Regions from separate parts of the Homo sapiens genome. Here all the other regions are linked to region 1. The links are contacts of gene promoters, found by promoter capture Hi-C in blood cells and fetal thymus (Javierre and others, 2016). All regions are on one chromosome and are shown on one strand. Each heading gives the region's core, a stretch centred on a gene start or on the middle of the fragment in contact. The rest is flanking DNA. Distances are from core to core; before and after follow the strand shown. Region 1 holds the start of SHH (sonic hedgehog signaling molecule). Region 2 overlaps LMBR1 (limb development membrane protein 1). Region 3 overlaps LMBR1 (limb development membrane protein 1). Region 4 overlaps LMBR1 (limb development membrane protein 1). Region 5 overlaps RNF32 (ring finger protein 32). Region 6 overlaps RNF32-DT (RNF32 divergent transcript).

Region 1 (4,865 bases), core at 1,760-4,259:
CCGCCTTCCCCATCCCTTCCTCCCCCACCCTTAACTCCTGGAATCGGGAGAAGGAAGGTAGGGGAGGGATCAACCGGGGATACCTCACAGACTGCCAGCCCCTACCCCCCTCGGTTTTAGGGGACCTTTGTGGGGTCTGCCTGATAATCCCGGCCTGGCTCTCCTCACCCAACCCCCACTTGGGCCGTCCTTCCCCCTCCTTTTGTGTTGGGAACGGGAATAGCCACTGCCCAAGGAAAAAAGTATTTGTTTTCGTTTCGTTCGTCTGAGGGAAGTTGACAGAAGGTCAGAAGTTCAAATGCTGCCTGTGCGCGCGGCGGCGAGAGTGGCCGGGCGCGGGGCCGCTGGGCCCTGCGTCCCCCGGCAGGGCGGACGGGGGTCGGGGGGAGGCCCCCGGGCTGGGGGCTCCGGCTGGGACGCGGAGGCCTAGAGGCCAGGCAGGCGGCGGACTGGGGATGGGGGCGCGTCCCAGGGCAGGCCGGCGGAGCCCGCGATGCGCCCCGGCCCCTGCGCGGGCGCCCCCATCTCCGCGCCCCCGCCGCCGGGGACACTACAGCGAGCCCGGCGCTGCTGTTAGCTCCTGCGGTGCCTGCGCTCCCGCGCGTGGAGCAGCAGAGCCCGGCGGCTCCAGCCCAGCCCCTCGCGCACTGAAACCCTAGCCGCGGGGGATCGATAACCCGGGAGTAAGTGGGGCTGCAGGCGTCTGCCTCGCTGCGCGGCTCTGTGCGCTTGCAGCTTTGCAGCAGGGCTGCAAGGCCCAAGCCCTGGGAAGGTGTGCGAGCCCAGGACCCCTTCTGCGGTATTGGCCTCCCGCAGAGCAGGGCAGAAGCTGACCCACTCTGGCTCTGGGACCTCGGGTATCCACGCCCCCGCCGCTCTCTCCGCAGTGCCTCCCTCCTCTCGGGTTCCGAGGGACCCTGGCAAGGCCCCTCCTCCGCGGGGAGTGAGGGTGACGAGAGGATGGGCGCCTCGGGCTAGCCGGAGAACTCCCTCCAGCCAGCTGCACGCAACGGGCACCCCATGGCCCGTGCAGAGTTAATTGTGGATCGCGCTGCTGTCTGGCACTGGCGCGCGCGTCCACACTCGCGGTCCAGATTTAAGGTGGTCGGGAGCAGATGAGGGAGAGCAAGGAAATCAGGACCATTTCCCATTCCTCTCCCTTCCGACAGCTGGAGCAGGCTACCTTGCCTGCCCCTCGCCTTTCTCGGCCTCAAGCAAGCCTGGGAATCGGGTCGGGAAGCAGGGCGGCACGGAGGTAGCTCCTCTCTCTCTGCCGTCAGTACCCTCCCCCTGCACTTGCGCCCCACCAGCGCCACTCCATCAGCCGCTGTACGCACCTAGCCCTAAAGGTAGGACTTGAATATTTTAATAGGGCAATAAAAAGGATGTTGACCTATATTTGCAAGGAAACCCATTTCTGGCTTCAGTTATACGTGCATGGAGTTTCAGAAAGTCTAGAATTGGCTGGGAGATTGGCAGCTCAGAAATCTCAAAGGAGGTGGGGAGAGAGAGAGGAATTCATATTTTGCTTAGCTTCCCCTCCCCCCACACTAATATTTATTCGCTCTTAATTCTTATGCAAGCAGGTTGAAAACTAAAGTGATGCAATGCCAATAAGTTCTAAGTCCCTCCCCTAAGGTACCTCGGGCTTGGAAGAACGAAAGAGCATCCTTAAAGAAATATCAATACATTCACACTCTGATGGGCACAATTGCGGACACGCAATCGCAAAGCCAGCTCTGCGATACAGCCAGCCACCCAGGGACGGGCGGAGTCTCCCCTGGAGCCCCTGCCTTTTGTCAGAACCGCCTCCTGGCTTTTCCAGTTGAGAATTCTTTGGTGGGGAGGTGCAGGGTGGGGGTAGTGGTGGGAAAGAAAACCACAGAGGCAACGGGAAACGTGGGGGCTCTGAGCTCCAATGCCCAAGGCTACGTTCGTTCGTTCGTACAGTACCAGGAGACCACTTCATGTTTGTGGGAGGGGGATTCCCAGCCTCTCCTTCCATTTCCACTCCTGACTTGGAAAGGGCCGACGCCCCCAAAGTGAAGGTCTCCCCAAGTTACAAGCCAGGGCAGAGGTAGGATGGGGAAGGCCATTGTAGCAAGACTCATCAAATCAGGGCCATAATGAACCACGTCTGTTACCGTCCTCACCCCCACCACACCCTAAACTTCTCCAGCTGGACCCTTGACCTCCATTCTCCTCCAGGAAGAGGAAGAGATGGGGGGCGGGCAGGTGGGTGGGGAAGGAGCGGGTGAAATCACCTTCCTATCTGCCCGAAGAGCAAACAGAGTTAAGTCTGGAAGTGTTCGGCTTCTCGTAACCCCCTGGAAAGCCACACATTCCACGCCCCGGCGCTGGGTTCCTACCTGAGTCATCAGCCTGTCCGCTCCGGTGTTTTCTTCATCCTTAAATATGATGTCGGGGTTGTAATTGGGGGTGAGTTCCTTAAATCGCTCGGAGTTTCTGGAGATCTTCCCTTCATACCTTCCGCTGGCGCCTAGGGTCTTCTCGGCCACATTGGGGATAAACTGCTTGTAGGCTAAAGGGGTCAGCTTTTTGGGGTGCCTCCTCTTCCCGAACCCCCTGCCCGGTCCGCACGCCAGTCCCGAGCATACCAGCAGCGAGGAGACGAGGACTAGCAGCAGACATCTCGCCAGCAGCAGCATCTCGCCCATGGAACTGATGACTTCCGAGCTGTCCCCGTGCGGGTCCGTGCGCGAGTGCGCGCGGCGGGTGTGTGCGTGTGCGCTCTCTCTTGCGCTTTCCCTTCCTCGCTCCGGCTCGCCCGCTCGCTCTCTCCCTCGCTGGCTGCCTCGCTCTTTCTCTTCCTATATAACCTTGCCCGCCGCGGCTGCGGGGGACTCTCCACCGCTCCCCACCCAGACAGGGGCTGGAATGGCAGGCTGCCGGCCGCTGATAACGGAACACATCGGAGTTGGGTCGCGAGACAGCAATCAAAAGACAAAAAGAGTCTGATTTTAAATGGTAGCAAGCCTGGAGAGCTTGTGAGAGAGGCTGCCTTTAGCACTATATTATAGCTGCCAGGGGCGCATCTGATTGGCCAAAGCCGCACAAGCTTGTCTTCTGATGTTAACCCTGAAGAAGACTACGTTTTTTTTTTCTGTTGCTGCTGTTGCTTTATTTTCACCTGAAGGATTCGAGTTAAAAAAAAAAAAATCTTTCCTAAGATAAAGGTGGGCGGGAGGGAGGAGCGCATGTCTTGTGGTAACAGCAGTTACTCCCGGCTTTGTGTACATCCTTGCGTTTCCCCCTGACTTTCCCTGGAATGGTAGGTGCTTCAGTTAAAACCAACTTAAGTTTTTAAAGGACAGTTTAAACCCCCGCAAGCTTCAGTCATCAAGCACAGAGTCGCTCACACATTTGAGGGGCACAGCTGCCCAGCTGTTATTTAATTTTTCTTCCCCAGGGACTTTATAGTGCAGGCTGGCTCTCCCTGCATTTTGAAGAAAGAGGACTGAGCCCCTCCTGAAGACTCAGCCTCTGTGGACCGAGGATAATTATGAGTGACCATAACTTAAAGCACTGGTATTTGAAATGCTTTAAGTGCCTTAGAAAAATGTAAAAATACTGCTCTTTTATTGTGCTTCAATTAATACATTTTTTTTTTTGTAGAGCTCTGCAAATGGGATGGAGGCGTGCTCAAGGGCAGTTACAGAGTGAACTGCGGGCGTCAGGGTGGATGGGCAAAGCAGGTCTGGGGGCTGCACCCCAGCACAGGGGAGAGAGTGGGGGCCAGTGTGTGCGCTGGGTGTGTGGAGGCCATTGCAGGGTGTTGGGGGGGGGGCAGGCGAGTGGGCGAAGCTGTGCTCACACAACCCCCACGATCGATCAGAGCAAAGTGCAGAGCCAGGGGTGAGCTGAATGTGGAATTCAGGCTCCTTGCAAAGCTGGCCTTGTGTGGGGGCTCAGCAGGCCAGCAGTCTTCAGGCACAGGAGCCACCAGTCCTAGGGGCTGCAGCCCAAGGGGTCAGGGGCCCTGGGGGAACAGTGTTCTGGTTAACGAGGGGCTTCCTAGAAAGAGGGCACAGTGCCCAGGAGGTGGCAATCTTTGAGTCTATAATCACCTCACTTTTTGCAGAAAAAGGAAAAAAACTCAAAAGTCCTAAGTAAACCAGGAAAATAAAATTTGAAGCTCCCTCTCAACCCTGCTTTTCTTTTTTTTTTTAAAAAAAAAAAAACAGATCATGCCCTTCCCCTTCTCAATCGCCATCCCACTCATGTGCAATGATTCCTCTAGCATAGGATTAGAGAGTGAGGGTTATTTACGTGGAGGGGAAATCCTGACCCTGAGGAGTCATCAGATGCTGCAAATGTGGCCCTGTGAAGTTAAACACTCTCCCTTGACCCCGGGCCCTTGGAGTGGAGGGGGAGAGGACCCCTGTGAAGCTCAGCCCTCAAACGATGGAAGTTTCCAGAAGTTCCCTTTGCAGATCAACTTTTTGTGTGTGTGGTGGGGGAGAGAAGGAGAGGAGCATCTTAGGACACATCTGTCTTGGGCATGAGAGGCTGAGCGTTAACAAGACTCGGTGGCCTGGGTGCCTTTGGGGAGGTTGACCCGGGCTCCCCTTCCCGCCTCTCTTTCTTGTTCCTTTCCATGGTTTGTGACGAATCGTGATCCCTGGAGGAGAGCACCGTGGGGGAGCAGCGTCCACTTGACCAGGCCCCGGCAGCCTCCACTGAGCGGAGCTGGAGCTCAGCTGAGCCCAGGGATTCTCCAGGCGGTGTGTCTGCGCTGCCTGTCCCGTTCCCAGTAAAAACAGACACAAAACAGGACCCGTGTTCTCTCCAGAGGAGGCCGGCCTGTTTGATGTGTCTACCTGCACAGCATGTGGATGTCACAT
Region 2 (4,865 bases), core at 1,666-4,165, 1.0 Mb after region 1:
ATTAAGTATGATGTTATCAGTAGGTTTTTTGTAGATGCTTTTTTTTTTTTTTTTTTTTTTTTTTTTTGAGACGGAGTCTCACTCTGTCGCCCAGGCTGGAGTGCAGTGGTGCGATTTCTCAGCTCACTGCAACCTCCACCTCCCAGGTTCAAGCAATTCTCCTGTCTCAGCCTCCCGAATAGCTGGGACTACAGGTGCACACCACCATGCCCAGTTAAGTTTTATATTTTTAGTAGGGACAGGGTTTCACCACATTGGTCAGACTGGTCTCGAACTCCTGACCTCAGGTGATCCACCCGCCTCAGCCTCCCAAAGTGCTGGGATTACAGGCGTGAGCCACTACGCCCAGCCTGATGCATTTTATTAGGATGAGAACATCCCATTTCAGGCCTACTTTGCTGAGAGATTTTACCAGAAATGGATACTGAATTTTGTCATATGCTTTTTCTGCATGTATTGTTACGACCATATGACTTTTTTTTTTCTAGCACGTTAATAAAATCACATGGATTGGCATTGCAAAAGTCATGATGTATTATCATTTTTATACAGTGTTACATTTGATTCGCTAAAATTGTATTTAGAACTTAAGCATCTATGTTCGTGACACTGGCCTGTCATGAAACTTTCAGTTTTCATGTATTGTCTGCCTGGTTTTGGTATGAGGGTAATGCTGACCTCAGTGAATTAGGAAATGTTCCCACATCTTCAATTTTCTAGAAGAATCTGTGCAGAACTGCTATTATTTCTTCCTTAACTATATGATAGAACTGACAGTAAATCCTCCTGGCCTAAAGCTTTATTTGTGAGAATGTTTCTAACATTCCCAGAATATTTGAGAAGGCTTTAATAGTTTTTGCCTGTTAAGGAAATTTGTCCATTTCTCTAAGTTGTTGAATTTGTTGGATAAAGGTGTTCATAATATGCAATTATTATCCTTTTAATCACTGTTCAATATGTAGTGATGTCACCTCTCTCATTCCTAATACTGGCAATTGGTCTCTTCTTTTTTGCTGATCATTCTGGCATTGTTTATCAATTTCAGTGTTCTTCTTGGTGATTTCCTGTTTTCTATTTCATTGATTTCCTCTCTCAAGATTTTTAAAGAAAGATTTCCCTTCTTTGGGATCTATTCGTTGACTCTGCAGAAACTGATTTGAGGCCTTTTTTCTGTTGTAATACAGGTATTTCGTGCTATACATTGACCTTTAAAAACTTTTTAGACACATCCCGCAAATATTAAAATGTTTTATTTTCATTTCATTCAGTTCAAAGCACTTTCAAATTTCCCTTTTGATTATTCTTTGACCAGTGAGTTATTGTAAAGTATGTTATCAATTACCAAATACTCAGGGATCTTCTAGATTGTTTCTAGGTAAGTTTTCTGACACTTATTTAATTTCATTGTCCTTACAGAGTGTATCTTGTATGACTTAAAATCCTAAAATGTATTGAGACTTATTTTATGGCAAAGAATGTGATCTCTCTTGGTAAATGCCCACATTGTACTGGAAAAGAATATGTATTCTATTCTTGGATGTTCTATAAATGTTAATTAGGTCAAGTCAGTTGATAGTATTATTCAAATCTTCTATATCGTGATTTTTTCTTCTATATGTTCTATCAATTATTGAAAGAAGGGTGTTGAAATATCTGAATGTAATTGTGATTCTGACTACACTTTCCGTTTTTGCTTCATGTACTTAATATATGTCATTAGGCAGATATATGCTAAGTATCATTAGGCTCTTTGGGTGAACAAACCACTTCAACATGATGAAATGATCTTCTTTATGACTGGTAATATTCTTTGCCCTTGTCTGATAATCATATAGCCACTCCAACTTTGCTCTGTTTAAAATTAGCATGGTGTATCTTTTTTCTCCTACTGCCATTGACCTAGTTTTGTCTTTACAGTGGGTATCCTGCAAGCAGATATACTTCAGTCTTGCTTTTATATTCAATTTGATAATCTCTGCCTTTTAGTTGTAGTGTTTAGAACATTACATTTAAAGTGATTATTGATATAGTTAGCTTTAAATCTATCAACTTGCTTTTTGTTTTCTATTTGCCCCATGTGTTAGCTTCCCTTCTTCTATGTTCCCACAGATTAAGTATTTTTTATGATTCTAGTTTATTTCCTTTGTTTACTTATTCACTATATCTCTGTTGGGCTATTTCTGGTTTGTCTTCAGGTTTATCATATACGCCTTTAACTCATCACAATCTGCCTTCAGATGATTTTATTGGCTGCTCTGCCAATGAAATAGCCATTCCTTTTATTCCTTTACTTTCTTAATAAACTTGCTGTCACTTAGAAAAAAAAAGATAACACTTCACGTAGAGCATGAGAACTTCACAACAGTGTGCTTCCGTGGCTTTCCTCCTGTGTGTTATCGTTGTCATATAACTTACTTGTACATCTATAATAAAATTCATAATACATTGTTACTACTTTTTAAACAGCCAATTATCTTTTCTAAACACAGGATTTTTAAAAAGCTTCTCTACATATAAACTGCTGCTTCTAGTGCTCTTCATTTCATTTTGTAGAGTTAGGAAATGAGTTAAGATATATTCCCTCGGGTTTGTTTAGCTCACGGTTCCTAGATATCTATCTCCTACCCACCTCCTACCACATGAAGGACAACCTGTAACATTTTTTAATGTACAGCTCTGCTGATGATGAATTTTTATCTTTTGTGTATCTGACACTATCACTATTTTGCCTTTGTTTTGAAAAATATTTTCACTGGGGATAAAACTAGACTGGCTGGGATTTTTCTTTTAGTACAATCCTCCCTCAGTGTCTGTAGGGGATTGGTTCCAAGACCTCCCATAGATACTAAAATCCACAGATGCTCAAGTCCCTTATGTAAAATGGCATGGTATTTGCATATAACCTATGCATATCCTCCTATATACTTTAAATCATCCATAGATTACTTACAATACCTAATACAGTGTAAATCTATGTAAATAATTATACTATATTGTTTAGGGAATAAGAAGAAAAAACTCTGTACATGCTCACTATAAACACAACCATCTTTTTTTCCAATATTTGTGATCCGTGGTTGGTTGAATCTACAGATCTAGAATCCACAGATCCAGAGGGCTGACTACACTGTTGCTACACTGTCACAACGTCATCTGGCTTGCATTGTTTCCCACCAGAAACATGCTGTGATTCTTATTATTGCTCCTCTGAACTTAACGTGTCTCTTTTTGTAGATGCATTTAAGATTTTCTCTTTATCACTGATTTTGAGCCATCAGATTACATGCGTTGGTACAGTTTTCCTCATGTTTCTTGTACATAGAACTGGTTAAGCTTCTAAAATCAGTGGGTTTATAGTTCTCATCAATTTTGAAATGTTTCTGCCATTAAGTTTCCAAATATTTTTCTCAACTCCCCTCCTTTAGAAACACCAACTACATCACTGATACCCTGTGTGTTAGCCCACTTTGCATTGCCATCAAGGAATACCTGAGGCTGGGTAATTTATTAAAAAAAAAAGAGAGAGATTTATTTGGCTCACAGTTCTACAGGCTGTACAAGAAGCTTGGTGCCAACAGCTGCTGTGAGGAGGGCCTCAAGCTGCTTCCATTCGTGGCGAAAGGCGAAGGGGAGCTGGCATATGCAGAGATCACAGGAGAAGACAGGAAGCAATGGAGAGGGGGTTGTGCCAGGCTCTTTTTAACAACCAGCTCTTATGAGAATAAAGAACTCACTCACCCACCTCCCGGGAGGGAATTCATCTATTCTTGGGGGATCTGCCCCACTGGCCCAAACACCTCCCACTAGATCCACCTCCAACACTAGGAATCAAATTTCTCTCTCTTTTTTTGAGATAGTGTCTCGCTCTGTCCTCCAGGCTGGAGTGCAGTGGCACAATTTCAGCTCACTGCAGCCTCTGCCTCCCAGGTTGAAGTGATTCTCCTGCCTCAGCCTCCCGAGTAGCTGGGATTACAGGCATGCACCACCACGCCTGGCTAATTTTTGTATTTTTAGTAAAAATGGTGTTTCATCATGTTGGCCAGGCTGGTCTCAAACTCCTGACCTCAAGTGATCCACCCACCCAGGCTTCCCAAAGTGCTGGGATTACAGGTGTGAGCCACCATGCCTGGCCCTGGGAGTCAAATTTCAACATGAGGTATGGGGGAATAAACATCCAAACTACAGCACTATTGTCACTTTTCAGCCATTTTTCCCTCTGTGTTTCACTTTCACATAGTTTTTTGATTTTTTTGTTTTTTGTTTTTTTACATGGAGTGTTGCTCTGTCACCCAGGCTGGAGTACAGTGGCGCAATCTTGGCTCACTACAACCTCCACCTCTCCCGGGTTCAAGCGATTCTCCTCCCTCAGCCTCCCAAGTAGCTGAGTCTACAGGCATGCACCACCATGCCTGGCTAATTTTTGTATTTTTAGTAGAGACGAGGTTTCACCAAGTTGGCCAGGCTGGTCTTGAACTCCCGACCTCAGGTGATCCACCCACCTCAGCCTCCCAAAGTGCCAGGATTACAGGCATGAGCCACAGCGCCCAGCCCCACTTTTGAATAGTTTTCTATTGCTATGTCCTCAAATTCATTAATCTCTTCTGCAATGTCTAATCTGCTATTAATCTACTGTTTTATATACTTTCACATCACATGCTATAGTTTTCATCTCTAGAATTTTGTTTTTTTACATCTTTTACATCTCAGTATGTTCAACATTTCCTCTAAGTTTCTGGAACATATGGAATAGTTATAAGAATTGTTTTCCTGGCCAGGCGCGGTGGCTCACGCCTGTAATCCCAGCACTTTGGGAGGCCGAGGCAGGTGGATCACGAGGTCAAGAGATCAAAACCATCCTGGCCAAC
Region 3 (4,865 bases), core at 1-2,500, 980 kb after region 1:
GGTGTTGGGAAAATCAAATTAACACGTAACAATAGTTAGTGAGATATGGCTTCATTTTCTGTAATAAACACTAAGATCAAAACATGACCCAAGTTAAATTTCCTTGCAGGGTTCCCAGCAGGGGCTTCCCTTTTGTCTGTGATTTCCTCTCACCCACCAGAACCAGGCCAAATATGCGCATGTGCCACTAACACTAAGCAGCACTTCCTTAATCACTCATTTCCAACAATTTATGGATCATCAGTGGCAAAAAACGAGCAAAAATAATGAAAGAATGCAATGAAAGCTCGTGGAGACAGAGGCTGGACTTCCTACTCACTCTGTGTCTCTTTAAGATGGAGGCCTGATACAAATTAGCCACTGGGGGGAAAAAGTCATCTGGTCATAAAATACAGTACAAGGTCACTTTTATGTAAGTTTGCCAAAAGGGACATAAACCAGGACAATTTCAAACTGTGACACAGGATAGAAACATATTAAAAAAATCTTTGTTCCTCCTCTATTGTGCTGTCATGTTGCTCAGCTTTATAGACATTCCAAGCACCAGCACAGAACTCTTCGCTTCCACCTGGTCAGTCCAATTAATTAAGAAAGGAAGTTACCTAAAATTTTGTACTTTTTGCTTTTATTATCAGGCACTTTGTTTGAAGTTATAGGAGTTAACCTCTTAATCCTACAGACCGTGTGCTACGCTCTGGCCATTCAGGGATGTCTGGATGGTTTGGATAATTGGTCAGGATGTTGCTTATGTTACCTTTTATGCTATGACTTCAAATCAAACATAGGCATTAAAGTTAAGTACAATAGAAATTTACTCCCAGAAAAATCTTGGGTTTATGAATTAATCTGTCATAAATTTTACATAACAATCATATGGAGATATTTTCTCCCACTTTCATTAAGTTGCTGAATTTTTTTTCCTCCTGACATTTTTATTCAAAATAAGATGTTAAGATATAATATAAAACAAATATATGCCTAACTACCATTTAAACACTGGCCAGAGGTTATACCTCCAGAGTTCCTTACAAAATCAGAAAACATCTCTGATATTAATCCAGATAACCTGGAGGTCTTTTCTGGAGTGGAGGAGGGAGATAAATCATACAGCCAATCTGAGGTATGATAAGCACAGCAGTGATGGCTGCCTTAAGATGTTCCCTGAGCCCTAAGAGCCACATACTGCAGAAAAAGCAGGCTTACTGCAAAACAAAACAAAAATCACCAAATGGAACCTTTTTATCAGTTGAAAAATTAAGATGTAAACGGAGTCACTTTCAAATACCTATGAACATACCTAAAGCTCAATACACATAGGTGACAGCAAAATAATCTAAATTTGGTAAACATTTAACTGCTAATAATAAGTCTAAATTCCAAGATAAAAGTTAGCTGCTTACTAAAAAAAAACTTTTACTTTATCAAAACCATTTCTATGCTCTTACACTTCAGAATTATAAAGTAAGGGAATAGCAAGGAGATGGTCCTAATAAAATAGAAACACACACCGCTGCCACGGTAAGAAGAGAGAAGCAAAGCTATTGAAGGCCCTTAAAAGGACATAGTCAACCCCCCAGGCCTAATATGTCCTGTTTGAATTAACATAGTGGTTTAATTAAAAACTAAGTAGAGAATTCTGCTTAATTTGATTTTCAATTCAAGCTCTGCATCCGCCCATGGCCAGTGGCCAATTTCCGCATCTCGGCACAATATGCAAGAAGCTGTTTGAACATCGATTGCCCAGGGGAATCCATGGGAGTAGAGTGGGGCCATATGCCATTTAGGGATACACCAGACTTAGACACAGTAAAACAGCACCAGGAGGGTGGCCACAGGAAAAAAAAAAAAAAAGGAAATTTTACTTAACCATATTACAAGTTTGTCATTGCTCAAATTAGTGCGCTGAATCTACCCATTAGAAATGTTTCTAGCCTCTCTTCAGTATCACTTCAGCAACTATATGTGTCAAATGTAATCGATGAGCAAGCAGCTTTAAAGGAATATACATAAATATATGTACTTATTCGCCAAATATGTTAAACATTCTAATGACTGTGATCAATCATAACATTAATTTCAATAAAGCAACGAAGTTAATTCTAATAAGCACTGTGTAAAGAACCATGTATCTTTAAAAATGTTATTTAGAACTTACACAGGTAGTTAACAAATGATTCTAGACTACAGAAATATACAACATGAAAGGGCTCAAATGTATGCTTAACACATTTAGACTTAACGACACAATATTAGTAACCTTTCCAACTTTCATGTGACTGATTTTAAAACCGAAAAATATGAATATTTTAAAATAACATGTCTTGATTAGCTTAATTTTAAAACTTTCTAAACATTTCTACTAGGATCTAGAACACACCTTATCTTCAAACAAGTTTGTTTCAAAGTATGCTAGCTGTAATGCTCAAGCTGAGTTATTCTACTTCAGTACATGCCATTGCAAAATGGGAAACATATTTTAAAACCGCCTGAGATAATAATCTGTGAGGAATTAAAAGATGACTGTACTGTATTCAGTTGCTTGCTTTCTGAGGCTCATATTTTATAGAATATTTAGTGATAATAAGTATTCTAGAAAACTTATTAGTGATTAGTGATATTTTATAGAATACTTATTAGTCAAATGCATTTAAAGACTACCTCGAAGATAAAGGTAATTTAATAATAGCTAATTTACTAAATGAAGTCCTGGGCTATGTGCATTACATGAATAATCACATCTCATTTAATCACCAAAATGATACAATAAAGTAAAGATCATTATTACACCCATTTTATAGAAAGCAACCCCGCGGTTTAGATGAAGTCACCTCCCAGGCAGTCTGACTGATGCCAAATTTTCTCACGGTTGCAGCTTCACCATCTTCCGCTGGCCTCTTTCCCTACCTTCAAGCTAGAATCCCATCTCCCTCCTTCCTTTAACGGCATTAACAACCAAATTCTTTAATTTGGTTTTCTGCAGCACCTATTACAACTTCCCAAGTTGGACAAATGGCAGTCGTCCGGGGCTCCACCTTCTGCTGTGTTTGGGAATTAATTGGATTCATAGTTGCCTGTATCCTACAGTCATTCAATATTTCAGTCCCATTTGAGGTCAAGAAACACAGCTGGTGACCCTCGAGTGATTTTTAGGCAACTAACATGGTCAAAGATGTGCTAAGAAAAGAATATTAATCATGTATAAAAAGACTAAAAATTTTTTTAAAATAGAGGAAGTAAGTGCTGTACAATCGTATGTGTGAAATATCTCTAATTAACTTCTATGATCCCTCCTCAGCTGATTCTCCCTTTGACCTTAAGTCTGTAAGGGGGAACAGGAGAAAAATGACATGTCACTGGGATTTTTTGTCATTTTTTTCTTTTTTAATTCTGGAGATTGTTGCTAATTCTTCAAACAGATTTAGCCAAGTCCCTTTCCTAGTTGGTTAATTCACAAGAAGGGAAGAAAATAACTTGGAGGCAAAGAGTTTGTCCATATTACACCCTGTTATTGTAAATAACAATCTATTCAACTAGATTGTTATAAAAAGTATAAATTAGGTAGATACTGTTTATAATGTCAAATATGAAAATATAGTTCACACCAAGCTTTATCATTTGTTTTTTGTATGTGGTACTATTACACAAGAGGTAGTGTCAGGAAGAGGGAAGAACTTTGCTTATTGAAAGCAAACGTCGGCAGGCAATGTCACAGAGTCAGGTGCAGGACTGATTCGGTGCCGTGTCTACAGATCAGTGTTCTGCACTGTGTGGGGCATGTACTCCTTTGTACTCCTTTCCTTTGTGACCTGCACAAAGTCTAAAATGCATATTTATCTCTAAATATACTCAAGTGGTAGATGAAAAAAAATTATTTTCAAAAATCCTATTCTGGCTTCTCTGTTGCCTACAACATAAAACTCAAATGACCAGATGGAGGACTCCAGGCCTCCAGAATTCGACCCTGGCAAGCGGCTTGTGCACCCTCATCTCTCACCATTCTCCAGTATCTAAGTACCGGCCATTCCCTCAATACTGTCAGAGCTCTAGGCCTTTGCTCAAGCCTGGAATGCCACACTCTAGCAAACCCCTGCTCATCCTTCAAGTCCCAGCCCAAGTCCAGATTGACTTCCCCTGTGAAGCCTGCTCAGATTCCCCAGGAAAATCAAGATATCCTTTCCTTTCAGGGTTTCCCATAGGACTTCATTATATAAAAGGGCTTCAAACTGCATCTTATTTGTTTACATCTGTCATTTCTCCCACTGTCCGACCCTTGAAGGCCAGAGGCCCATCTTTTCATCTGTGTCCCCAGCAAGCTCCTATAAAGAGCATAATAACTGCTACTTAAGGAATTGGTTAATAAAACTGAATTCTCAATAAAATTCATTCTCTGTTGAATGAATGAATATCCATCAAAAGTTATGTTTCCAAAATTCTACAGAAATTGCCTTCTCAAGAGTCTACAATGACCTCCTTTCTTCTTGTTGTTTATTCTTGGTTTTTGTTTGTTTCTGAGACAGGCTGGAGTGCAGTGACGCAATCACAGCTCACACCACAGCTTCAACCTGCAGGCTCAAGCAATCCTCCCACCTTAGTCTCCAGAGGGGCTGGGACCACAGGTACCCATCGCCACACCCAGTTAATTTTTTTATTTTTAGTACAGACAGGGTCTCACTGTGTTGCCCAAACTGGTCTCGAAAAACTGGCCTCAAGCAACCCTCCTGCCGCAGCCTCCCAAAGTGGTGGATTACAGGTGTGAGCCACTGCACCCGGCCATTGACTAAATTTTAATTGCCTGTCTTAAGAATACATCATGATTTTTTAAATTCCAATGCATAAAAGCCAGTTTTCTTAATGTCAGGTTTGAC
Region 4 (4,865 bases), core at 753-3,252, 930 kb after region 1:
ACAGAGGAGGAGGAAATACTTCCAAACTCTTGTTAAGGGGCCAGTAATACCCTGATACCAAGACACATCAAAGAAAGCAAACTACAGACCAACATCTCTGATGAATATTGATGCAAAAGTCCTCAACAAAATACTAGCAAACCGAATTCAACAACACATTAAAAAGATCATTCATGATGAAGTTGGATTTATCCGAGATGCAAGGGTGGTTCAACATATTCAAATCAACCAATGTGATACATCATATCAATGGAATGAAGGACAAAAACCATATGATCATTTCATTTGATACTGAAAAGCATTTGATAAAATTCAACATCCCTTCATGATACAAACCTTTAGAAAATTGGTACCTTGGATGGAGCGAAAAGATGTGGCAATCAAACCATTATATAAACAGGATTTCCAATCAATTCTCTTATGAAGTAGCTCACTCTACTTCGTCTGGTGGTGCCACTTTTTGGGACTTTTGGGGATTCTGGGGTATAAATTTATAAATCAAGCACAAATGACTTACGATTTAGCTTCCTTGGGTCTGTGAAACTGGTTACTTAAGTCCGCTAAATTTTCTCAGGTCTTCTAAATTCCAAAATTTTATTGTGATTTTCTCCTCTCAACTTCTCATCTTTTTAGGTTTATGCCTCTCTGAACCTCAGTGTTTTCATCCGTAAAAGGGGGTGTATCTATTAGGACACTATATACTGAATCAGAAAACTAAACTCAAAGTAGCTTAAAAATGAGGAAATAATTTCATATAATGAGAAGTTTAGACACAGAGCAAACTTCAAAGAGGATTTTCCAGCAGCTCAACAGTGACATCAAGGGACTAAAAGTACTGCCATCCTCAAGTTGACAGGAAGACTGGTGCTCTTTCTCTTTTTATGTAACTCTGTAATTTCTGCTCATTATATTTGTTCTTTATTTCTTCATTTTCTTCTTTCCCAGCTAGTGAAACTTTAGTTTATCCTTTTTGCCCATGTTAATTTGGCAGTTCAATGGTTACTTTCACATTTTTAATACTCATACTTAGATATACTTTTCATTATAATATCAGCATCACACAGTCCTAGCCCTACAGGGATGCTTTTCTGAGTAACTTACCCCACACCAAAGTGAAGCTCTCACAACGCTTTAATCATTCTCTCACTGCTGCCCACCCATGCCCCCAACTCCTGGATCTTGCTGCGACAGTTTTAACAATATTTAGTTCAAGACTGTTACCAAATGTTTCTTTCAATATGGAAGTTAGAATAGTGCTTGGCACAAATTAGGTGCTCAATATACAGATATAAAACGAACAAATGAGGGAATGCATAACAGATGAATGACATCTTTGGGAATATATGAATTTTTTTTTTAAGAGACAGGGTCTCACTTTATATTACTGCCCAGGCTGGACTCGAACTTCTGGGCTCGAGCGTATACTCCCACCTCCCGAGTAGCTGGGACTACAGGTGCGTGCCGCCACACTCAGCTGAGTTTTCAACTGCAGTCTTTATTCCTCCCTTACAACTATGGGTACTATTCAGCAACCAGTAGCAGGTTGCAAATGGGAAGCTTGATGTTGATCTCTCTCTTCTTTGTCTGGAATTTTTCTATGTGAAAGTTTGTAAGGGCTTTTTTTTTTTTCCATTGTTCTTGGAATTCAGGAATCTTACAAACTAAATCCAAATCTTTTTGATTTTCTATTGAATAATCTTGCCTAGGAGTGTGTGGCCTTTTAACCTGAACTCAAGTCTTTCTTAAGCTCATTGATATTTTCTTCTATTTTTTATTTACCTACTTTTCCTACTTGTTCTTTTCTCTCCTTTTAGATGCCTATTATTTACATTCAGTATCTTAGCTCTGCACTTCACGTCTATTTTTCATTAATACTTTCCTTCTTTTTGTACTTTTGGTGTGTGACACAAAATAGTTCTTCCCCTTGATTCTGCAAGATGATTAATTCAATTTTTGAAGGACTATATTAGTATGCTATTGCTGCTGCTGCTGCTACAAATTATCATAAAGTTTCTGGCTTAAAACAACATAAATTTATTGTCTTACAGCTCTGGAAGTGAGAAGTCCTAAAATCAAAGTGTTAGCAGGACTATAATCCTTCTGGAGACTCTAGGGGAGAAATCATTTCCTTGTCTTTTCTAGCCCTTGAGGGCCACCTGCATTCTTTGGCTCATGGTCCCTTCCTTGAGTCACTCCGACCTCTTCTTCCATTACCAATGTCTCCTTCTCTGACCATCTCAGCCTTCACTTATACCAACTCTTGTGAGTACAGTGGGCCCACTACATAATCCAGAATAATCTCAAGATCCTTTACTTCATCCCATATGCAAAGTCACCTTTGCCATGTAAGGTAACATATTCACAAGGTCTGGGGATTAGGACTTGGACATCTTTAGGAAACCATTATTCTGACTACCACAAAGACTATTTCTTTTTTTGTTTGTCTATTAAGCTTTTTATTTTTTTCAAGTTCTCAGCATCAGTCTTTTTCTGTTCTAATGACATTTCCTTGGACATTCTTACTACTTTTGAGGATTAGGTATGAATTCTTATTTGTCTCTCCCATTAATTGTTAACTCAAGTGGGAACCACTTGTTCTAGATATCTATCTTGGTCTTCTTCACTGAACCTTAAACAACTGGTAATTTTTCTCTATCCACCTCTGTTGTTCCCTTCATCTCTAATCAGGTCAGACACTCCCTCAAACAGTGACAAACCAGCTAAAAGGTACAGCAATTCAATTATGTTCCTAGGGGCTAGGGACCAACTGGCCAGAAAAACTGATTTAGGAGGAGGAAACCTCGCTGGGTCTCTCTAGGTGCAAAGAGTGGTCCTTTCTCAAAGGGAGAGACTGAAAGGAGGATTCAGAACAACAACGCAAGGCCAGCAAGATCAGACAAACCTTTGCAACACAGGGGCAAATGCAATCTCACTAAGGGAATTCAGAGGCCTCTTTTTCTAAGCCCCTTTGGGGAATCACAAAATTCCAGTCTTATCCCAGGTTTCTAGGAGAAGTAAATCCCATTCCCTTTGCAGCTCCTTGCTCACTTCTGCCCATCACTGAAGAGACAGCAATCGAATACCCTCTCTTTCAAAGAACCTGAGATCTCAAATCCACTGAAACGTTTTATAGTGTTTTCAGAGTTCATGAGTTTTATCACTTTACTTGTTAATATATAATTGATATATTTATGAGAGGAGGGATAAAGCTAGTACAGAAATATTCAGGTAATGTGACACAAGCTACTAAACTTTGATTACAAAGTTAGTTTTGAGTTTCTGGCAGCCACAGCAAAGGGGGAAGCAATTAAGTTACATAACGAATGAGTATTTCCATATAATGTGATTTACAGAAAGACAGCACAGCTCTGTAAGGTTTTCAGGTGTCTTTGAATCAAAGTTTAAACTACATAATAGTCTTAGTAATAAATATATTTTACTTTTATCTCCATTCTTTATCAATTAAACTGTGTATCTGTAATTAATGCTCATTTAACTTGTATATCTCATTGACTGGAAATACAATTCCAAACTACATTCATTCCCCATTCATGCAAAGATTTATTATTCTGGTAACCAGCTGAAGGGTAGAAAAAATAAGCTCATGAGTATTTAGAATTTCAAAAGAGAATGGACATCAGAATAGAAAGTATTCCTGATGCCAATTTGAAATTAAGTGAAAAGACAAAAATGCCTACTTTGTGGGTATGTTTACAGAGCTCAATACAAATGTCTAGACCACTCAATGTATGATTCTTCAAAGGAAAATAACTAAAATGGCATTTCTGAAATGCTGTGCTTCTATTTGCAGGTGATATAACACTAGGCACACAATAGGTAATTAATAAATACTGACTGACTTGCATATAAAAATCAAAACTACATTCTTGTTGTCCTCAAATAAATCATACTTTTATTAAATGACTAGATTCATCTGAGATGACACATTATTCAAGGACAAGACCACTCTTTATTATAATAGAGCAATACCTAAGGGAGAAATGTAAGCTTTTTTGAGTAAATATTTCATTATAAATGACCAGAAGGAAACAATGACTATCGTAAGAAATTATGACATACTGCAAACAAATACTGAGGCATTATGTGGATTTAAGTTATACCAAAAATTTAAAATATCCCGAGGAACTGCATTATCATTACTTTATTTCCAAATGAATCTAAAATGTCCAGTGTCAGCATTGTCTAGTCAATAAGTCAAACTGGTAGACAAAACCTGTTTAGACAAGTCACAAGAAATAAAAAGGGATTCTCCAAGAAAACCACAAAGCAGCTCATTTAAGGTCAATTTAATGGTATTATTCTGTTTTTCTTCCAGCCCCAACATAAGATTTCACTACCTCAAAGGAAATTGTAAGAGTATCTATTTGCATTCCCCTTAGGTGATTGGCAGTTCAACACCAATTAGTTCAAAATTACACTGTTAACTAACATGCAATAAAAACAACACCTTTCATCTTTCTTACATAGGTAAGAATAACTTCAGAGCCAATAACTTTGATCAAGTAAGTATTTTTGATCCTGCCCCACCCGTCTCTTTGGATTCAGGAAAACTAATAGCTGAAGGCAACTTTTCCCAGCTTTATTCTTAAGCTGAAAAACTAGTGTGGTATTAAAAATATTTTGCTTCCAAGATAACAGAATTTCCCAAAGTCCAGTATTTATTCAATAACTAAGCTGTCCTTACAACTTTCTTAATATATAAGACAGCCTTCATATATAAAAGGAGAGGTACTAAGTATTTAACTTAAAATATAAAATGTATTTTTAAAAACAAATACAAATTTCCAATTAGATCTGCAAGCCCTTCAAATAATTGATGAAATACAATTATCTCCCTAAACAAT
Region 5 (4,865 bases), core at 719-3,218, 860 kb after region 1:
GTTGGGTCAGATACAATATTAAAATTAATTTCACCTTTTAAAAAACTTAATGTGACTGCCAGAAATTTTAAAATTACATACGTAGCTCACAGTATGTTTCTATGGGACAGAGCTGATCCTGCGAAATTCGAACTTTTCTCTCAACTTTTAATTTCAAATGTGTTCCTGCTAATGGTCAAAGCTCACAACCAAGAAAACAGCAGGGGAGGGAAACAATATACCCTTTTCCCCTACCCTCCTAAATTCTTCAGCTGGAGCCCTGTAAGTTAAGCTTAACGAGAAAATTACACGGATTTACTTAGTAAGTCCCATGTGGTATGGAAGCCTTCCTAAGGCAGCGCAGACCGGAAGAGATAGTGCAGACCCGAAGAGGCAGCGGCGACCCGAAGGGGCAGCGGAGACCCGAAGAGACAGTAACGCCTGAGCGCTTTCTATGCTAGGTTGGATGAGGACACAGAGGTCGTGGGGAAGCATGACAGGACAAGGGGTGAGCTGAGGGTGGTCGGTGGGAACCACGGCAAGGCCTGTGTGCTGTCTCCTCCCGGCTCCCTCCGTCTTTGGAGACGAGGGTGCCTCTCACAGGAGGGTCCTGTGACCCACTTTAGGGGTGGGGAGAGGTCAGACGGTCCCTCCTGCAGCTGTCATTTCTCAAATTCCTTTGGGAAGGAATGTTTTTTCCTTAAAATATTCAGTATGCCAAGGTGCCGTATTTTGGGGTAGTGTGTTCTGGACTCCATCAGATAGGGGTTCTTGTGGTCATCTGTCCAGATTATCTGGATTTATAGTTAAGTAAAATAGACATATATCTATTTCCCTAAAAAGTATTATTCGAAGACAGAGACGAGGAAGGTTACCAAAATAGATGGTCAGGCTCGAGAGCGCTTCCCTGCAACCTCCACCGAGCTCAGGTGTGAGCTTACCCGCCCCCGCCTCCTCCTCAGTTCACAGAAATCAGCCACCGCATCCTGTGCTCATACAACACCAACATTGAAGAGCTCTTTGCAGAAATCGATCAGTGCTTGGCCATAAATCGAAGTGTTCTTCAGCAGTTGGAAGAAAAATGTGGCCATGAGATCACAGAAGAGGAATGGGAGAAAATCCAAGTGCAGGTAGGTTTGGCTGGCAGCCTGGCAACCAGCAGACTCAGCTGCAGCTGCAGAGGCTGTGGGGAGTGGCATGTGGGGGGAGGTCGAGGACTCACTTTGGGGAGCCTAGGAGTGTCAGGCCCGGGGTGCAGCCGTGGAGGCTGTGGGGGTGGCATGTCGGGGGAGGTCGAGGACTCACTTTGGGAAGCCTAGGAGTGTCAGTCCCGGGGTAACCGCTGCCCTAGCTGCCCCTGCACCTGTGGTAGGACTTTCCTCATGGGCTTTAGGGTGACGGCAAAGGTCCCTTCAGTTTGAAATTCTGGAAGTTCCTGTTGGATGTTGCTTATCACAGGTGGGTTACTAACCCTTTCCACAGTTCCCAGGAGTAACAGAGTATATGTGTGTGTATATATATATGTATATATATAAATAAAATGCATGTGATTTTAACACAGAATGAAACTTCCGCATGTTTCGAAGACCCATGTCTCGGGGCACATGGTTCGCATTTCAGTTTAAGTAACTTTCTGCTGTGATGAAACTAACCCGCGTGGCCTCTTCCCGTCCTGTGTGCCGCAGGCTCTGCGCCGGGAGACCCACGAGTGCTCCATCTGCCTGGCCCCTCTCTCCGCTGCTGGCGGTCAGCGCGTGGGTGCAGGCAGGCGTTCCAGAGAGATGGCCCTCCTGTCCTGCTCACATGTGTTCCACCATGCGTGTCTGCTGGCACTAGAGGAGTTCTCCGTGGGAGACAGGCCTCCTTTCCATGCCTGTCCTCTCTGCCGCTCCTGCTACCAGAAGAAGATTCTTGAATGTTGAATTCATAGTCAAGGAAAGTTAGGTAATTCTGAGGAAAAAAGTTTACCATCATTTTGGATGAACTGCATGAGTTCTGGGTTAAGTACTACAATGTAATCTGTTTCCCAGGGAAATAAGCTATTGGTAGTTGTAGGAAATCTTAGTATATTTTAAAAGCTGACATCCCACCTAATTTTAATCTTTGGTCTCTAAAAAGTAAATTTCAAATTTATGAGTTTAATCACTTCAAATATGAATAGCAAAAAATGAGAGCTTGCTTACTTCTAAAAATTGAGGTTAAGATATAGCTAGTGTCTGAACGACACTCCTTAAAGTAAGTTCCAAATGTAAAACACTCCTTAAGTTCCAAATGTTTTCCGCTAATAGTCTGTCCTAAAGCCTTTGCCATTCCTAATACTCGTTTTGTAATAATTGCTGTATTTCTGTGTAATAAAATATAAAAATAAAATATTCAGTGGTATTCAACATCAAAAAAGTGCAAATTTTAATGTCTTAGAGCAATAAAGACTGTTTTAGTTCACACATTTTAAAAAAAAGTGAACCTTTTTGGATAAGAATTGTTTTTGTCACTGGTTTACTATTACTGGGAGCTTGGTTATTTACAGTAACCAGTTACAGTCTCATCGGTTAGGTTACCCCTAGCCGAGTAACAGATAAAGCCCCAACTCTCAGTGGCTCGCTGAAGACACATGATTTCTGAGGTGTCCAACCCATGTCAGCCATGGGTGAGGCAGGGCGAGGGTACACCATGTGTGACCCTGGCTCCTTTTGTCTTGTGACACAGTCTCCTTTGCCCCCGAGTCCCCAGTGAATCCTGTCACTGCTGGTGGAGGGGCAGGAGGACATTGTTCCAGGCCATGCTTGGGAGTGGCGCTCATCACTCCAGCCACAGTAACTACAAGGGGCAAGGAAAGGGCAGGGTGTAGGCCTAAGAGGAAGAGGCCAAGTGGGTGTGCACATGGCATGGGCTCAGAATAACCCAGCATCTAATGTGAGAAGAAATGCCAAAATTTCTATTTATTCTTATCTCATCCCTTAGAAAAAATACTCTCCTATGTTTTGTGATGTACACATTATATAGCTACATATGTATGTATCATTTATGAATAAATATGCATATATTGGGATGTGCTCATTTTTTAAGGATGTATACTATCAAAAAATTTGCAGACTAATTTGGAGAATGCTTTAAACAATGAGTAAGCACTTTTATTCTAAGAGAGCAGAGGGAAACTGAATCACAGAACCTCAATTTTCTGTAAGCTGACATCTCTCTCCCCATAGCGTTGACAGGCAAAGCACAGGCACGTGTCAAAGGCCAGAGCAGTCCGATTCCGCCGCCCTAAACTTTGGATCTAGAAGGAGAGTCCCGGAGATACATGGATCATTCAGTGATGGGAAGAGCCCAGGAAAGGTTGTGCCTAAGGCTGTGCCCAACACTTCTTCCGGGGCTTTCTCATCACATCTGTGAGCCATGCCATCCACCCCGTAAACCTTCCGTGCCTATGTTGGCAGAGTCCATCTCTATTCTTTGCAACCAAGTGCAGTACTTTACTGACACAGGAACTAGTGTTAGTTGCAGGCAACAGATACTTAGGAAAATCGGTGGGATGAAAGGCAGGAATGGTCATCTAACTTCACTGAGGATGAGGGTCGCGAAAATCCCATGAGTTCTGAGGAATGGTCCAGGGCAGCCTGTGACAGTTAACAGAAAATCAGGCAATTTTCTTACTGAAAAGTGGCCATGGAATGGCGCGCCCATCGAAAGCTTGCGAGACCAAGTTGCAACCACAGAACGCTAAAAAGGACCTGAATGAAGTAGCTACTTCTCTGGACAATTTGAAGATAACGCCACATTGTCAGGTCAAGTCAGGAAAACAGTGCAAGCTTTTATACAATTACTCCACAGCCTCATCAGGTCTCTTCTATAAAAACTGGGACACTGACCAAGAAAGAGTGGGGCCTTTGGAAACATGAGTTCATGGGAGGACTCAGCGGACAGGGAGAGCCCTGTCTGCTGCCCTCATTGTGTCTTCCTGGTCAGCTACAGCAGTCCCTACGGGATGTGGCCATTCCTCCCTTATTTTAACAGGTTGGAACCCACTTGTCTGACAGTCACCTTGCAAGATGAAGCCACTTCTTGTGCCTTCTCACACATCCCTTTTTGCCTTTAAATCCACTTAATTAGGAGCCTACCATTCCATGGGCGGGGGGAATCATTAAATCACTATCAAGTCCAGAAAGAGAATTCTTAGCGAATTGTGGGACTGGAGGCATTTGATAAGAATAAAGGTTATAATCTAGAATGAGGATACCTGTCATGAATCTTTATCAACCAGATAATAGAACTGTAAGGTACATGAATGAACAAGAAACTGAAAACCTAAAACAAAGAAAAAATGAGACTGCGGTTGTACTGGCCTGTATTTACATCCAGTTCATCTGCCCACTGTAAGCGTGACCCCAGGCAAATGTCTGCAGCTTTCTCAGTGGCGTTCCTTGTCGGTAAAATGCAGATGTGTATTTTCGGCTTCGCAAGGTGGTCCTGGGGGTGACTGTGGGACGACAAAGAACTCGACCCTCCACACCACGCCCCAGGCCCCTCTCACCACCCCTGCTTCCAAGTCTTTGATGAGATTCCACAGTAAAGACTAAAAAGAAAAGAAAAAGTGAATCACTCTTCAGACTGAAGGATAGCCAGGCCAGAGAGGTGGCGAGGAGGAAGTGAGCAGGAGGAGGACGATGCTCCACTTGTCACTTAGTTCTCTGACTCTACTGTGGAGTCCATATAGAACAACTGTGGATGACTTCAAGATGCTGTTAAAGAGAAGTTGCAGAATCAATATAAATAGCTACAGCAGTATCAAATATGCTTGGTTCTGAAGTGTCAGTGTTTGTAAGCGGCATCGTTCATTCAGTAACAGCTTTTCAAAGGAAAGGAAAGGAGAAGACATTACAACAGCC
Region 6 (4,865 bases), core at 1,383-3,882, 680 kb after region 1:
ATTAATAAGAGGAGTATCTCCTTTTGAGATTATAATGGATTTTCATATGCAGAATTTTTTTAATATTCTACTAGGTACATGACACGGTTTTAAATTCATATTGAACTGAAGCAGGATGCCTTCCTAGATAATGGTTACCGGCTGCATTTTTAAATAGCAACTTTCAGGGTGTAACTTTTCCATTAATCACACGGGCACACACTTAAAAACGCTTACTCATCATACACCAATTACACAGTTGCCACCAAAAAAGTGTTTTTTTCTAAACTTTAGAAATTAGAAAATCTTGAATGTTGCTCTAATACAGAATTTGGGTCTAAAATAGTATAAAATGTTTTCTCCCCAAGCCAAACTTTCATAATTACACTTCAATCACGTTCTTGGGTAATTATCAATGATGGTCCTAAAAAAAAACATAAACTGACAAGGCAAATTAGTGCTGGTGAGATTCTGTCAAGAGTGTAATCATCTACCCGTCTCCATCCCCGCTTCCTTCCTGGGTGAGCCCACCCGATCCCACTACTTGGCTTAAAGCAACCTCCTTCCTGCAACCTTCCCTATCTCAGCTCGCCGCCCAGATCCAAGGGACAGAGGCAGGCCCTTCCCCTCAGCAGGACAGACATGCTAGCCTCACCCCAGACTTCAGCGTGCAAGGCCACCTCTGCTTGCACCTGACCTGCTGTGCCCCGGCCTTCCCGCTCATGCCTCCTTGGTGTCCCTAAGCCTCTCTGCTCCCCACCTTTGCACAGCTCACTCCTTCTGCCTGCTCTGACCTCCGTTCAACTGGCACCTCTTCTGTGAGTTCTTCCCTAGCCCCCATCTGAACCAGCCCCTGGCTGTCTCTCCCCAGCACACCTTTTGCTCCTTCACAGCCCTGCTCACTGTCCCCACTGCCAACCCACTGTTCACTTGCCTGGGCTTTGTGTCCCCAGCAGGACGCAGGCTCCGTGAGAGCCGGGCCAGTGGGACTGCTCATCCCAGAAGCCCCCGCCGGAGAGCACCTTCAGGGCGGACCCCCAGCAGTGTGTCAAGTGGGTGCATGTGTGCGGATGGGTGCAGGGGCTGTGGTATTGAGGAAGACATGGTGTGGTTAGATAGCAAATGCCCACAGCCTGGACAATGCGATTCCCACCTGAGACACCATTGCCTAAGGGGCCCAGAGGCTTGGCTTTGATGAACAGGGGTTTGTACGGACAACAGGGACTGCAGGAATACAAGAGGGTGGCCTTGACATTCCCTATTGTTCCAAGAACCATCCAGCTCAGGGCCTTTGTGCCCCCGACCCTTCTGGAATGTTCTTCCTTACACAGCACTACATGATACAGAGAAACGCAAGCTTGCACTCACACGGCTTCCACATCAGCCAGGGCTGAGTACTCTCATGAGGATTCCTGGCTTCCCCGTGATTTACCGCAGATTCCCTCTAAGCCCAAAATCCCCACGTGCACGAAGAGCTTTTCCTTCCTTTCCATCTTCACATGCACTCCTTTCCAGGGCACAGCTCTGCTCCAAAGGAAAACATGCCTTTCCCACCGCCCCCCAAGCTTTAGTGAGGTATGCTTCACAAATAAAAACTGTACACATCTAAGATGTACAATTAGTGAGGTATGCTTCACAAATAAAAACTGTACATATCTAAGATGTACAATGTGATGTATTGGTGTGTATGTTCATATATAGTGAAATGATAATAAAAATTACAGTGATGTCAAAATTAATTTCCAAAATGCATATTGTGTGTCACTGCACTATAATTAGGATGTTACCACTGTCCATTTGATCTGCTAAACTGTAGAATCTCTGAAGACAGAACTGTAATCTTACAGATATTCTATAATCAGAAAAAATTATATCAAATATCCAGTTTGGGCCATTTCCTGGGACAGTATTCGATGATTAACTTGAGCCTGAGGAGACTATATAAAATCTTAACATTAGGGGCAACTGAAAAGAAAGGTTGAGATGGCTAAATTTTTTTCTTTTCCTGGGAAAATGCCCCATGTCAACTCCATATTCACTACATTACAGTTAATAATAATTTCATATTTTAAATCACTGATTCCATCAAATTTAACATGTATTTGATGATTACCTATTATGGGTTCAACATTGGACTGGACATTTAAAAAGTACAAGATACATTTACAATATGTAGTTCCAGCCCTCAAATAGTTATAAAAGTTCCAGCCCTCAAATAGTTATAAATCTGCCTGGGAAGGTAATTTGTTTACACTTGAACATTCCGGTTACATTTAAAAAAATCTATATGGACAATAATGTATACTGAAGGAGAACGACAGATGTTTCCTGAACACACCAGGCACACTCTTACTTCAGAGGCTTTGCACTCATTATTCCTTCTAGAATGTTCTTTCCTTAGGCTACCTCCAAAGCTCCCTCACTCACTCAAGTGAGGGTCTCTGCTGGAGCGTCCTGTACCAGTGGGCCCTCCCTGACCACAGTGGATGGCAACCTTCTACCTGTTTCCCCTCTCTCCCTACCCTACACTCATTCTTCACAGCACTTGTCAGTCCTAACTTATATTATTTATCTATTTTATTAGTATTTTCTGCCTTCCTCCTTCCCATGAAAGCAGGGACTTGCTCTGTTTTGCTCATTCCTCTGTTTCTAACATCTGGAGGGTGGCCAGCTCATCACAGACATTCAATAAATATTTCTTAAATCAATGTCTAAGGGATGAATCACACAATGCATGGTATTGCCCAGTCGGATGTCACGTGAATCAAGACATTTTTCAGGAAGGATTACAACTACCATGCAAATTGCAAGCTCCCTGGGAGGCATAAGCCCTCTCTCCCAGCATCCCATCAGCATTGCAAGGTGTGCCACCAAACTCCACCGCGACTTGCTGATGTGCACGTGTATTTCAAATCAATACCGGGTTTACGTGTATACAAACACACAGCCAGCTAAACACCTTCTAAACTCGGAACATTAATACCTAGACAGGTGCCGATTTCAGATGTTCACACAATTGAAGCAAATGAATTCCATCTCTATCTGAGCCACATTTTCTAAAGACAAACTTCTTCTTCAGCATGGATTATAAAGAAGAACAAAAACAATTACTCAGCCATCTAACATGCCTCATGTTAGTCAACCACGATGTGAATAGAAATGCCCAGGTCATGTTAAGGTTTGTTTCATTTGTTGTGTTTGTGTGTTTATTGCATTCCCAGGTCATGTATTGCATTCCCAGATTAAGGCTGGAATACCTTGCACGTGTAATCTTCATCCAACAAAATAAAATGCAGACACGCACCCTCCCAGAAAATCCTCCAGTGGCAGCGGCATGTGAGAGCCAATGGAAGGCCAGGCCCAGGGCCCATGCGAGGATCGGGAAATTGTGAAAAGAGTGGAAGGAGTAGGGACTTTGAAATCAGACCAGGGTGAGGAACGGCCTCCCTCCCTTTCGGACTTTCCAGCTGCTGGACATCTCCGAGCCTAGCCTGTCACTCTCAGAACATCTCAAATTCATCATCTTCCCACCCCACTTAGCAGCTGGTAGCCACTGCCCTGTGTTTCATGATGTGAAACACACAAGTGCTACCTCCACACCTAGCATGTACACCATCCTGTATCAGAGATGGCCACACCTTGTATTTCCTAGAGCAGGGGTGCCCAGCTCCCCCACGATACCTGTCCATGGCCTGTTAGGAGCTGGGCCACACAGCAGGAGGTGAGCAGTGGGCCAGTGAGCAAAGCTTCCTCTGTATTGACAGCCGCTCCCCATAACCCGCATTACCGCCTGGGCTCCGCCTCCTGTCAGATCAGCAATGGTATTAGATTCCCATAGGTGCACAAACCCTACTGTGAACTGTGCATGAGAGGATCATGTTACTGTAATGCCTGATGATCTGTCACTGTCTCTCATAACCCCCAGATGAAACCATCTAGTTGCAGGAAAACAAGCTCAGGACTCCCACTGATTCTACATTATGATGGATTTTATAATTATTTCATTCTATATTACAATATAATAATAATAATAGAAATAAAGTGAACAATAAATGTAATGCGCTTGAATCACCTCAAAACTATCCCCACTCCCTGTCCATGGAAAAATTGTCTTCCACGAAACTGGTCTCTGGTGCCACAGAGGTTGGGGACTGCTGTCCTAGAGGCTTTCAGGACCAAGTGCACAGTGTAACTGGTGTTTGTGTCTCACAGCCAGGTGGGCACAGCCTGCAGCATCCACGTTCTATAGACTCAGAATCAAAAGCACTTATTAGGTACCCCAGCATCAACAAACACCACCCACTGGCACCCAGATGTCCTCAACGTACTCTTTGTCCACCTGAGCAGATTTATCTTCATGACACGGTAGAATCTTTAGCTAAATACTAACAAGTGAAAACTTTTGTCACTCTGGTTAAACATTAAAATAATCCTGCTGCGACATGAAGATGCTCATTTCAAAACAAAACAATGGGAAGTGTTTTAGAAAGCATTCTCTTCACGGGGATGGAGGGAAGGCAGTAAAAGGAACCCCATGTCAAAGGAACCCACAAACCAACCTAAGGAACAGACCAAATGTAGATGGGAGATGAAGAAAGCATTGTGTGTGTCAGTTTCCATCCGTCTGTCTCCCCGCAGCCCCCACCTCCTGTCCTGGAGAGTTGTACAGAAAGGGCACATCACACCCACCCACTGGAAAATGGACAATTGTTGTGTCCAATTTCACTGTCATCCCAGAATGGAAACCCTGAGCTGAGGAGAGCTGTCAGGTAGGAAGGACAACGTTCTCTCCACCGCTTTGATGTAAACCAAACTCTGGGTGCTGCCAAGGTTTGACTAATTCTTCCTTATTCCAGGCTTACCTTGTTGCCTAATTTTTTTCATAT

The links. The method cuts DNA at HindIII sites, captures the fragments that hold promoters and counts their contacts. A CHiCAGO score of 5 or more calls a contact.
Region 2: a fragment that was not itself captured here is called in contact with the fragment with the promoter of SHH in region 1 in 13 of 17 cell types (M1 macrophages, megakaryocytes, naive B cells and 10 more); the score reaches 11.7 in M1 macrophages.
Region 3: a fragment that was not itself captured here is called in contact with the fragment with the promoter of SHH in region 1 in 2 of 17 cell types (naive B cells and naive CD8 T cells); the score reaches 5.4 in naive B cells.
Region 4: a fragment that was not itself captured here is called in contact with the fragment with the promoter of SHH in region 1 in 1 of 17 cell types (endothelial precursors); the score reaches 6.9 in endothelial precursors.
Region 5: a contact is called between a fragment that was not itself captured here and the fragment with the promoter of SHH in region 1, in 1 of 17 cell types (endothelial precursors). The highest score is 5.8, in endothelial precursors.
Region 6: a fragment that was not itself captured here is called in contact with the fragment with the promoter of SHH in region 1 in 1 of 17 cell types (endothelial precursors); the score reaches 5.2 in endothelial precursors.

What each region holds. Positions count from the first base shown.
Region 1 is chr7:155,809,454-155,814,318 of GRCh38, forward strand. It overlaps SHH (sonic hedgehog signaling molecule), which reads right to left and starts at 3,010. Exons shown (of 3, transcript NM_000193.4): 1 at 2,370-3,010. The coding sequence starts at 2,669. The HindIII fragment of the contact is 3,572 bases long and covers 1-3,077 here.
Region 2 is chr7:156,806,561-156,811,425 of GRCh38, forward strand. The region is part of intron 4 of LMBR1 (limb development membrane protein 1); the gene reads right to left. Among named protein-coding and RNA genes, the nearest start is that of LMBR1, 84 kb to the right of the region's middle. The HindIII fragment of the contact is 831 bases long and covers 2,501-3,331 here.
Region 3 is chr7:156,791,080-156,795,944 of GRCh38, forward strand. The region is part of intron 5 of LMBR1 (limb development membrane protein 1); the gene reads right to left. Among named protein-coding and RNA genes, the nearest start is that of LMBR1, 100 kb to the right of the region's middle. RefSeq lists enhancers at 1-952, 1-2,000, 1-1,955, 9-796 and a cis regulatory region at 1,703. The HindIII fragment of the contact is 4,707 bases long and covers 1-3,604 here.
Region 4 is chr7:156,742,727-156,747,591 of GRCh38, forward strand. The region is part of intron 9 of LMBR1 (limb development membrane protein 1); the gene reads right to left. Among named protein-coding and RNA genes, the nearest start is that of RNF32-AS1, 85 kb to the left of the region's middle. The HindIII fragment of the contact is 895 bases long and covers 1,556-2,450 here.
Region 5 is chr7:156,674,755-156,679,619 of GRCh38, forward strand. RNF32 (ring finger protein 32) reads left to right here. Exons shown (of 9, transcript NM_030936.4): 8 at 942-1,109; 9 at 1,665-2,376. The coding sequence ends at 1,901. LMBR1 (limb development membrane protein 1) reads right to left here. Exons shown (of 17, transcript NM_022458.4): 17 at 3,037-4,865. Among named protein-coding and RNA genes, the nearest start is that of RNF32-AS1, 17 kb to the left of the region's middle. The HindIII fragment of the contact is 3,398 bases long and covers 270-3,667 here.
Region 6 is chr7:156,491,421-156,496,285 of GRCh38, forward strand. The region is part of intron 2 of RNF32-DT (RNF32 divergent transcript); the gene reads right to left. Among named protein-coding and RNA genes, the nearest start is that of LINC00244, 47 kb to the right of the region's middle. RefSeq lists an enhancer at 238-764. The HindIII fragment of the contact is 2,181 bases long and covers 1,543-3,723 here.